2 separate regions of the Homo sapiens genome follow, and region 1 is linked to region 2. Evidence: promoter capture Hi-C in human tissues and cell types (Jung and others, 2019). All regions are on one chromosome and are shown on one strand. The core of a region is centred on a gene start or on the middle of the fragment in contact, and the rest is flanking DNA. Distances in the headings are between cores, read along the strand shown. Region 1 overlaps IL6R (interleukin 6 receptor). Region 2 holds the start of CHRNB2 (cholinergic receptor nicotinic beta 2 subunit).

Evidence for each region. The method cuts DNA at HindIII sites, captures the fragments that hold promoters and counts their contacts. A contact is called where the count stands out against the background at its distance.
Region 1: a contact is called between a fragment that was not itself captured here and the fragment with the promoter of CHRNB2 in region 2, in 1 of the 25 tissues and cell types used here (bladder).

The regions. Positions count from the first base shown.
Region 1 is chr1:154,435,656-154,441,394 of GRCh38, forward strand. It overlaps IL6R (interleukin 6 receptor), which reads left to right. Exons shown (of 10, transcript NM_000565.4): 6 at 314-455. Among named protein-coding and RNA genes, the nearest start is that of IL6R-AS1, 32 kb to the left of the region's middle. The HindIII fragment of the contact is 3,775 bases long and covers 1,250-5,024 here.
Region 2 is chr1:154,564,756-154,570,201 of GRCh38, forward strand. CHRNB2 (cholinergic receptor nicotinic beta 2 subunit) reads left to right here and starts at 3,023. Exons shown (of 6, transcript NM_000748.3): 1 at 3,023-3,353; 2 at 4,707-4,852; 3 at 5,037-5,081. The coding sequence starts at 3,290. LOC107985206 (a long non-coding RNA gene) reads right to left here and starts at 2,962. Exons shown (of 2, transcript XR_001738238.3): 1 at 2,669-2,962; 2 at 33-1,427. RefSeq lists a silencer at 3,194-3,323. The HindIII fragment of the contact is 6,337 bases long and covers 1-3,666 here.

The DNA of each region.
Region 1 (5,739 bases), core at 1,887-4,386, 130 kb before region 2:
TGCCAGGCCAGTCTCCTCTTCCCGGGCTTGTCTGTGAGGAGAGCAATGTGGGAAGAGATTTGGGCTGTAGACATGTCAAGGGTTGTGGCTTGCAGGATTCTATAGTGCATGGGTGGGGCAGGGACTTTCTGCTTCAGCTTCCGTGGGCCCTGAGGGCAACCCCCTCTCTAGCAGAGCCTCTGGGGTTGTGGGAGCCTCTAGAGGCCTCTGCCAGCTGAAGCACAGGGCTGGCCAAGGCACCAACCCACTGGGGTGCTACCTGCCCAGCACCATCCTGGATACCTCCCCAGAGTCACCGTGCCCCCGCCCTCAGGTCAAGGACCTCCAGCATCACTGTGTCATCCACGACGCCTGGAGCGGCCTGAGGCACGTGGTGCAGCTTCGTGCCCAGGAGGAGTTCGGGCAAGGCGAGTGGAGCGAGTGGAGCCCGGAGGCCATGGGCACGCCTTGGACAGGTACTGCGGTGGGCACTGAGAAAGGAAGGGATGTTTCAACTGTCATTGCATCAGGTATCCATTGCTATGTGACAAGTTGCCTCAAAACTAGTGGCTTAGGCCAGGTGTGGTGGCTCACACCTGTAATCCCAGCACTTTGGGAGGCTGAGGCGGGTGGATTGCCTGAGGTCAGCCTGGCCAACATGGTGAAACCCTGTCTCTACGAAAAATACAAAAAATTAGCTGGACATGGTGGCAGGTGCCTGTAATTCCAGCTACTCAGGAGGCTGAGGCAGGAGAATCTCTTGAACCCAGGAGGCGGAGGTTGCAGTGAGCCGAAATCGCGCCACTGCACTCCAGCCTGGGTGATAAGAACGAAACTCCGTCTCAAAACAAACAACTAGTGGCTTAAAAACGACCATCATTTATCGGCTTGAAATTTCAAAAATACAGTCAGTTAGGCAGCTCTTCTGCTGGTCTTGCCTGAATCAGGAATGCAGCTGCCATCAGATTGGGATGGTCTGAGATGGCCTCAGTCACATGTCTGACGATGGTGCTGGCTGGTGGCCGAGGCCCTGGGTTCTCCCTGTGGCTTCTCATCCTCAGCTGCCAGCCCAGACTCAGGGCAGGCGGGTGGGGATCCCACCACAGCTGGAGGGATGCACTGCAGAGAAGTTAGCCGTATTTAATCTAGGGCTTTTTATTTTTTTCAAATGTTAAAGGTAGTAATAATTGCCATTGGGGATTGTTGAAATTAGAGCATGAAAAATTCCAGAAAGATATGAAGAATAATTATCACCAGTACTTTTACTCCCTAGAGAAAACCAGTGAGAACATGTTAGTATGCTGCTTTCCTTTTTCTAGGTACATGTATGTGTGTGTGTATTTATATATATAAATGTAATATTCCCCATGTTGTCAATTACTTTTGGAAACTTATTATTTAGTAACTGCCTGATTAATACATATATTTTAAAACTCCATGGAAATTTGTTGTTGTTGTTGTTGTTTTGTTTGTTTGTTTTGAGACGGAGTCTCACTCTGTCACCCAGGCTGGAGTGCAGTGGCATGATCTTGGCTCACTGCAAGCTCCGCTTTCCAGGTTCATGCCATTCTCCTGCCTCAGCCTGCCGAGCAGCCGGGACTACAGGCACCTGCCACCACGCCCAGCTAATTTTTTCTATTTTTTAGTAGAGACGGGGTTTCACCGTGTTAGCCAGGATGGTCTCAATCTCCTGACCTTGTGATCCACCCGCCTCAGCCTCCCAAAGTGCTGGGATTATAGGCATGAGTCACTGTGCCCGGTCGGAAATTTTTTTTAACTTAAATTTTTTTTTTTTTGAAGACAGGCTTTCTCCTCGTTGCCCAGGATGGAGTACAGCAGTGCAATCACAGCTCACGGCAACTTCTGCCTCCTGGGTTCAAGCAATCCTCCCGCCTCAGCCTCCTAAGTAGCTGGGACCACAGGCGTGTGCCACAATGCTAATTTTTTAAAAATGTTTTGTAGAGACAGGGTTTCACCATGCTGCCCAGGCTGGTCTCGAACTCCTGGCCTCAAGTGATCCACCAGCCTCAGACTCCCAAAGTGCTGGGATTACTGGTGTGAGCCACTGCACCTGACTAAACTTTAAATTTTTTTTTTTAGACGGAATCTCGCTCTGTTGCCCAGGCTGGAGTGCAGTGGCATGATATTGGCTCACTGCAAGCTCTGCCTCTTGGGTTCACGCTATTCTCCTGCCTCAGCCTCCTGAGTAGCTGGGACTACAGGTGCACACCACCACGCCCGGCTAATTTTTTTTTTTTTTTAGTAGAGACGGGGTTTCACTGTGTTGGCCAGGCTGGTCTTGAACTCCTGACCTCGTGATCCACCCGCCTCGCCCTCCCAAAATGCTGGGATTACAGGTGTGAGCCACCGCGCCTGGCCTAAACTTTTAAAATTTTAATCAAATTAATACATGCACATGGCAAAGAAGTAATAAACAGCTTATAACACTGAGCAGTGGTCCCTTGTCCCATGCCTTCCATTTCTAGTCCTGCTTTCTAAGGAAGCTGCTTGACTCTTTCTGTTTCTAGTTCCTCTGTTGGTGCCCTCCTTAACTCTAAACAACAAGCTTATATGGCTTTTTTTTTTCCCTGATAAAACCACTTGAGACATTATCTATCAACACCCTGCTATGAAAGGTTAGGATTTAGCAGATCTAGAATGCAAGAATCTCCCTGACCACAACCCAGAGAGTGGTCAGCCAGCCTCTGCTTAAATGCTTCCAGAGACAGAGAGCTTACTACCCCTTGCAGCAATCTGTTTTATTGTTCCCAGTGTTTTTGTTGTAGAATGGCTTCATGGCTCACTTTGGGGTCAAATGTTTCTAGCCCTGTGGCGTAGTTGAACCAAATTAATCATTCTTAAATACTTGGCAGTTAGGAAAAAAAAAAGAATAAGATACCCATTTATTTGAGTAAGTATGGATAAAAAGGAAAAGGTAGAATTGACATCAGTCCCATCCCGACCCCTGCCACTTTCTCCCAGCCCTGGCCCCAGGGAGAGAAGGCTTTTATCTATGGGCTGCACATTCTTCCCCCAGATTGGATGGTGTGGGGTGATGGCTCTTCCTCCTGGCTGGCTTTGTACTGTGGGGTCCTTGTCCCTTGTCTTTCCTGTCCTGGGGAGAGCCAGAGGAGTATGCTGGGGCTTAGGGTGTAATCCTAGTTGGATGCAATAATATGAAGTGCCGGCTTCCATCTTTGTTGGCACTTTCCTTGTTCATCAAGGACAGGAGGCAGCTTTCTATTGGGCCCTCTCCTCAAAAGCTTTTTTCCTGCTCAGACCTGGACAAGGAGTGGGGCCTAACTACTATATCTTACTTAGGGAGACCATTTTAATAAATCAGTGCATCCTTCAGGGTAGATCGTATTGACCTGTCCATGGTTTTCTTTGATTTGTGTATACTTTGAGCCAAACACACTCATTTATCTGAATGCTGAGCATCAGTATGGCTTTGGGGGCCTTTTTAAGGGGGGAAAAATCAGCTCTAACATCGTGCAGAGGAATAGGAATTCCAAATATAGGCTGATCCCTATTTTACCTTTTATTCCAACCACTTAGTTCAGATAGTCACAAGCAGCTTAAAGCTTGTGACAAGCAGCTTAAAAGCAATCTTGCTTTTTTATAAAGTTTCTTCTAAAAATTTTCAAATTGTAAAATGTACATAAGATTTACCATTTATATTATTATTATTATTTTTTGAGACGGAGTCTCGCTCTGTCGCCCAGGCTAGAGTGCAGTGGCGTGATCTCAGCTCAATGCAACCTCTGCCTCCCGGGTTCAAGCAATTCTCCTATCTCAGCCTCCCGAGTAGCTGGGACTACAGGCACCTGCCACCATGACTGGCTAATTTTTATATTTTTAGTGGAGATGGGGTTTCACCATATTGGTCAGGCTGGTCTTGAACCCCTGACCTCAGGTGATTCACCCACCTCAGCCTCCCAAAGTGCTGGGATTACAGGCGTGAGCCACCGCGCCCTGCCCATTTATATTATTTTTAAGTGCACAGCTCTGTGGCATTAAGTATTGTTGTGCAACCATCACCACTTTACTTCTCCAGGACTTTTTTCATCTTGTAAAACTGAAACTCAGAATCTGTTAAACAGTAACTTTCCTTTCACCCACTCCTTCCCCCAGCTCGTGGCAACCACCAGTCTACTTGCTTTTTCTGTGAGTTTGACTACTCTAGTACTTCATTTGCTTGCTTGCTTGCTTGCATGCCTGCCTACCTGCCTGCCTGCCTTCCTTTGTCTCTTTCTGTCTCTCTCTTTTTCTCTTTTTTTTTGAGACGGAGTCTCACTCTGTCACCCACCCAGGCTGGAGTGCACTGTCGTGACCTTGGCTCACTGCAACCTCTGCCTCCCGGGTTCAAGCAATTCTCCAGCCTTAGCCTCCTGAGTAGCTGAGATTACAGGCGCCTGCCACCATGCCTGGCTAATTTTTGTATTTTTTGTAGAGACAAGGTTTCACCATGTTGCCCAGGCTGCACTCTAGGTACTTCAAATAAGTGGAATCAGAGAGTATTTGTCCTTTGGTGACTGACTTATTTCACTTAGCATAATGTCCTCAAGGTTTATTCATGTGGTATAACATGTGTCAGACTTTCCTCCCTTTTTAAGGCTGAATAATATTCCATTGTGTAGAGATACCACATTGTGTTGATTCATTCATTTGTCAGGGGACACTGGGTTTGCTTCCCCATTTTGGTTGTGCATAATGCTGCTATGAACACGGGTGTAAAATATCTGTTTAGATTCCTGCTTTCAGTTCTTTTGTGTATATACTCAGAATTATAATTGTGGCATTATATGGTAATTCTATTTTTAAATTTTCATGGAAATGCCATGCCGTTTTCCACAGTGGCTGCACCATTTTACACTTACACCAGAGTGTATAAGGGTTCCAGTTTCTCCACATCCTTGCCAACATTTGTTATTTTTCATTTTGCTGCAATAGTCCTCCTTATGGATGTGAAGTGTTATCTCACTGTGGTTTTGATTTGCATTTCCCTAATGATTAATGTCTTTTTTTTTTTTTTTTTGAGACAGAGTCTCACCCTGTCACCCAGTCTGGAGTGCAGTGGGGCGATCTTGGCTCACTGTAACCTCCACCTCCTGGGGTTCAAGTGATTCTCGTGCCTCAGCCTCCCGAGTAGTTGAGATTGGCATGCACCACCACACCCAGCTAATTTTTGTATTTTTAGCAGAGACGGGGCTTTGCCATGTTGGCGAGGCTGCTCTTGAACTCCTGACCTCAAGTGATCTGCCCATCTATGCCTCCCAAAGTACTGGGATTACAGGCGTGAGCCACCACACCCAGGCTGAGGATCTTTTCATGTGCTTCTTGGCCATTCATATATCTTTGGAGAAATATCTATTCAAATAGAAAGTTCTTTCTTATGTGAACCTAACTCTGGCCTCACTGGCCCTTGCTCTGTTCTCAGGGATAACCAATGACAAATTTCCTAGTCTGCTCTCTCTGAATTCTTTTGGAGTTCCCAGACCTGCATCTGCTTGGGCTCCTCTTCCCAGGCTGTTACATGAGATGGTCTGTGAATTCTTCACCTTTCTGGCCCCCTTCCCCTGAATCTGGTCTCATTTGTGGATGTCCCTCTTTAAGTTGCTGACACTCTCCTTCTATTGGAAGATGGTGTGGTGGGGGCTGTCTGGCCAGCACTGGGTACGGTCTCCACTTTCCAGCCTCAGGTGGATGTGCTTCTTTGGCATAGACACAGCTTCTGTGGGAGCTCAGATAGAACAGTCG
Region 2 (5,446 bases), core at 1,773-4,272:
ATAACATTGATTTTAAGCCTTTCCCCCCAACCTTTTTTTTTTTTTTTTTTTTTGAGACAGGGTCTGGCTCTGTTGCCCAGGCTGGAGTTCAGTGACATAGTCTCGGCTCACTGCAACCACCTCCACGGCTCACGATATCCTCCCTCCTCAGCCTCCCAAGTACTGGGAGGTGTTGCCCAGGCTGGGAGCACGTGCCACCACACCTGGCTAATATTTTTAAATTTTTTGTAGAAACAGGGTTTCACCATGTTGCCCAGGCTGATCTTGAACTCTTGAGCTCAGTCCATCCACCTGCCCCAGCCTCCCAAAGTGCTTGGATTACGGACGTGAGCCACCGCTTTCCACCAATTTTAAGCCTTTCAAGAGAAAACATTCCTTATCATCAGTGGCAATGGGAGTGTCTCACCAAAACTTTGCCCAATTACTCTTTAGCCTCAGGATTGATACTTCTGCATCTGTTCATCACCCTCTGTGGTTCTGGACCTGTCCACTCTTCCTGGCTGCCTTTCTTCTTGGTGGGTATGGAAGGAGTATGTGTGGGAGAGATGAGGAAGGAGGTGTTCCCGCCCTGCTTGGACACTGGGTGGTTGTGCTCAGAAGACTCACTCCTTGCCAGGCTGGAAGTAAACTTGAAGCAAAAGCTGGGGGATTTGAGAAGAGAAGGTAGACTGGCCTGGAAGTTGCATCAGGAGAAGCCAGAGGCTTTAAGCAAGCAAATGACCCCCTAGTTTCTCATCCCATAAACAAGCAACCATTACAGAAAGAGATTTTTGTTAAGAGAAGACTTTCACAGCCTTCCTCAATCATTCTGCATCCACCAAAACTCCCTGTATTTCTTAGGAGTTTGGAATACCTTTAAGTCATCCTTGTCTTAATGACTTTCTCACCTTTCAAATCTCAATTTTCATCTTCATCCCTTCTAGGTTCTTAGACACTATTAACCTCTTCTTCCTCTGTGCTTCCATCCATAGCACTTCCTTTATATGTCTGTTAGAACAGCCATCACATTCTATAATAATTTGCTGCCAAACTGTGATCTCCTTAATAGCTGGGACTAAGTCTTTTTGATCACTGCATCTTCAACACATATGGTCCACAACACACATGCAGTTTCCTGGCAAACCACATATACCTAACAAATGTTGATCTAAATTGTTGAAGGAAGATCTTCCCACCCTCTATCTTTTCCTTAAGCAGAGGGACTACACACATTCCTTCTCTTTTCCTTAAGGCTTTTCTTCACTACTTTTCTTTGTTACAAGGTTTCTTTAATTCTTAAGAGATTATTGTGCGCTTACACATGCGCATGCCCCGGAACAAGTCGTGCAGATTTACGCCCATTTCCATGTGCATCATGGGGTCTGTAGTCCTTCTACTTCTCCAGTCCTCTTCTAGAACTTTTCTGCTTCTTCCCTTAATTCCACGACCTGGGGACATGGTCAATAAGTTGCTTTTAGCTGGGCTTTTATTTATTTATTTGTTTAGTTTTTGAAATGGGGTCTTGCTTCATTGCCCAGGCTGGAGTGCAGTTGCGCCATCATGCCCCAAACTGCAGCCCCGACCTCCCTGGCTTAAGTGATCCTCCCACCTCAGCCTCTCGAGTAGCTGGGACTATAGGCACACACCATCATGCCCGACTAATTTTTAAACTTTTTGTACACACGTGATCTCATTATGTTGCCCAGGCTGGTTTCAAACGCCTGGGCTCAAGTGATCCTTCTGCCTCAGCCTTTGAAAGTGCTGAGATTACGGGCTTAAGTCACCTCTCCTGGTCCCTAGCTGAGCTTTTAGAGAGAAATTTTCCCTACACATTAAAAAGTGTCAGTCCAGTACTAGCCCTTTTCCTTACCTGTTGAGCCCTTATAATAATATGCCAGGCACTGTGTTGATTCATAATCTAGAGAGGCAGCCACTGCCTCAGGTGGATTCATTTATTCATTGGACATGCTCTGGAAACATATAACAAAGTATCTGATCTAGTTCTTGGTCAGGCGCAGCTTCCTTAAGGAATTGACATTCCTGCCAAATGCTCAAAGTTAAGTAGAAGGTGATGAGGGGAACATGGGTTATAAAAGAGCCCAAGAGAACCATGCATTTAAGTCCCTGAAGTGTGGGGGATGATGGGACGGATAAGATGTTCAAGGATCCTGAAGACCTTGCCAATAGTTGGAATGTGGAGCTGGGGGTGGAGTGACCCAGATGAGGTTGAAGTAAGCAGGGACAAAACAGGACAGAGCCTTGCTGTATGCTAAGTCTGCTTTAGTCAGGAATCTTTTGGTTGAAAGTGACAACGAACCCACTGAAGGAAAAAAAGGGGCTAAGAGTTCAGGGTTCTCATCTTTGGTCTCCTTTGTGTTAGCTTCTCTCTTGATCAGGCCTCTGTGAGTGGTCTCTGATCTCCCTAGTCACACAGAAGCCAACAGCTGGAGTCAAGAGAAGGGGGTGAGGAAGGCCGATGAATAGGGGCTACTTGTCTTTCCACTATTACCCTCAAGTCTACCTTCTTTGCAGGCAAGTCTAGACCTCCTCAGGTAGACCCTCAGTGGGAGGGCAGGAAGCTTAGCCTTTTAGACTCCAAAGCCGTTTGCTTTCTTAAAAATAGCAAACCCACAGCCCCCTATCTCTTTAAGGGGCTAAACACATTTTCTCTGCTGTATCCTCAGCCTACCTGGGGAGCAGGACCATTTGGGTTTGGTAAGAGAAAAAAGGAGGGCGAAAACCCCGGACACTCCTCCTGTCTCCCGACGCTCGTTCTGGCCGTCTGGCCCTCAGTACTAAGCAGGCCCTGACCTACTTGTCTTACTCTTGCTGCTTCTTCCCGCCGGGCCTCTTGCCCCTTCTCCGACCATGCTGCAGGTCCTGCCCCAACTTTAGGACTTCAGAACTCCTCCACCGTGCCGTGGAGGAACAGCCCTTCTTCCACCTCACGCACACCCTACCACGGCAGAACCAATCGAAGACTATCCCAGCCGGGGACCCCCCTTTTTTTTCCTGGGACCCAGCGTTTCCGCCTCCGGGGCGCAGACTCCTCCCCCTCACCGTCCCAATTGTATTCCCTGGAAGAGCAGCCGGAAAAGCCTCCGCCTGCTCATACCAGGATAGGCAAGAAGCTGGTTTCTCCTCGCAGCCGGCTCCCTGAGGCCCAGGAACCACCGCGGCGGCCGGCACCACCTGGACCCAGCTCCAGGCGGGCGCGGCTTCAGCACCACGGACAGCGCCCCACCCGCGGCCCTCCCCCCGGCGGCGCGCTCCAGCCGGTGTAGGCGAGGCAGCGAGCTATGCCCGCGGCATGGCCCGGCGCTGCGGCCCCGTGGCGCTGCTCCTTGGCTTCGGCCTCCTCCGGCTGTGCTCAGGTAAGGGAAAGACGGGCACTGGCCAGGTTCTCCTACCCCAGCCAACGGCCCAAGACTCGCCGCCCTCTGACTCACCCCTGCTAGGCCGGAAGGTGGAAGAAGGGATTCCCTAGAGGTGGGGGAGTCTGCTGGAGGTTAGGGGAGAGCCCCCCGGGACTGCAGAGAGCACCTGGGAGGCTGGACTGGGAACGAGACATACTCGAAGGAGTAAGTGAAGCAAGAAAGAGATGGAAACCTGGCCAGCGGTGGTAGGGGTGGTGCAGGCACAGAGAGCAAGGAGGCAGGGGATCTCCCCAGGCGTCCTGGGGTGGCAGGAGGCCGGCTCTGAGGGCGCTAAGATGCCATCTGACTTTTTGTGAAACATTATCTCAAGAAAGGTACCTGGACCAGCACCCCTCCCCGGGCTCCCCATCGTTTCCCATCCCCCACATTGGGCTCCAGATTCTCGTCACCCCTCAGGGGCAGAGAAGGGGAGAAAACGGAACGGACTTTTCAACCCTCCTGTAGGGTGGGACAGGAGGCTTGGAAGGGAAGAAGCTCTGCCAGGCTGAGGACTAGGAAGGAACTCTCTGAGGGGATGGGGAGGGGTGTGTTCGTGCAGAGTTGCAGAGGGGGATGCAGTGTGCCGGGGAGGGGCAGGTACAAAGGGAATGCACAACTGAATGAGCTTTCCACACCTACAGGCCACCTCTAGGGGTGGGCTGCTGTGTGTGTGAAACTTGGGGCTACATATATGCCTGACCCACAGCTTAGGCAGCCCAGCTATTCCACTCCAACCCAGTGCCTTTAGGGAGAGGGGAGGATGGCATCGTGACCACAGTCACATGTCATTACGTGAGGCACATAATGTCATTTGCACATGTAAATGGTGAACGGGAACAGTTATTTGTGTCCCACCACACATACACTTTCTCCTCAATCGGCAGGAGAAAGGATGTGTGTGGTGGGACACAAATAACTGGGACAAATAACTGTTCACCTTCACTGCCCTGCTAAACCTCCCTTGAGTCATAGGTATTTGCTGGGGAAGCCATGGAAGCAGAAATCTCAAACTGCCCTCTGAGACTTTGGGGGAAGAGCAGGTCTCCATGAATCCTTGCAGAGTGGGTTCTTAGTCTCAAGTCATCTCTGTGGAGCTGTGTAGACTCTTTGGTCAGTGGTCTCAGAGAGGGGCTTTTCTATGAAGACATTAATCTGGGGCCTCCCTGGGGTTAATCTAAGCATTTTGCAGTATCCTTAGGGATGTAGGGAGATACTGGTTGGGCCTGGATTGTCCCATTTGCCTGGGGAGGGTGGGATGCTGGGTGGGCTCTCCTTGCCTGCTTACTTTCGTCCTGCCTTTCCCCTGCCCAGGGGTGTGGGGTACGGATACAGAGGAGCGGCTGGTGGAGCATCTCCTGGATCCTTCCCGCTACAACAAGCTTATCCGCCCAGCCACCAATGGCTCTGAGCTGGTGACAGTACAGCTTATGGTGTCACTGGCCCAGCTCATCAGTGTGGTGAGTAGAGGTCCCAGGCTCTCTGCCCAGCTACTGAAATCAGCCCCGCCAAAATGTGTTAATGCTTGTGTGCTTCCTCCCCTGGTGTTTCCAAGGCTTGGGGAGGTGTGAGAGGGACCCTGGGTGGTGGCAGTGACCCCACAGGCTTAGGGGCCTTCTCGGCAGCCTCTCTTCCTCCCTGCAGCATGAGCGGGAGCAGATCATGACCACCAATGTCTGGCTGACCCAGGTAAGCGTAAGTGCTCTCTTCCACCCACACCCCTGGCCTTCTCTCTCCTCCTTTTTCCCCATGTGCTTTTTTCTTTCTTAATCTCTCAAAACAGGCAGAAAGGTATAGAGTTTGGAGTCCTAAACAATTGGATTTGAATCTTGGCACTCACCAGCCTTGTGACTTTAAACATATTAAACTCTCCAAGATTCATTTTCTCATTTGTAAATGTAGATTCTAATACTGTACCTTGGCCTAGCTGTGCAAATTAAATGAGAAAGTACCACATGAGCCATACCTGATGGGCAGAGAAGTCACTGTGGGGAAGAGGCTGGCTTTTAAAAGGTCCCTCAAGCCATATGGGCCCCCTCTAGTTCGTTTCCTTA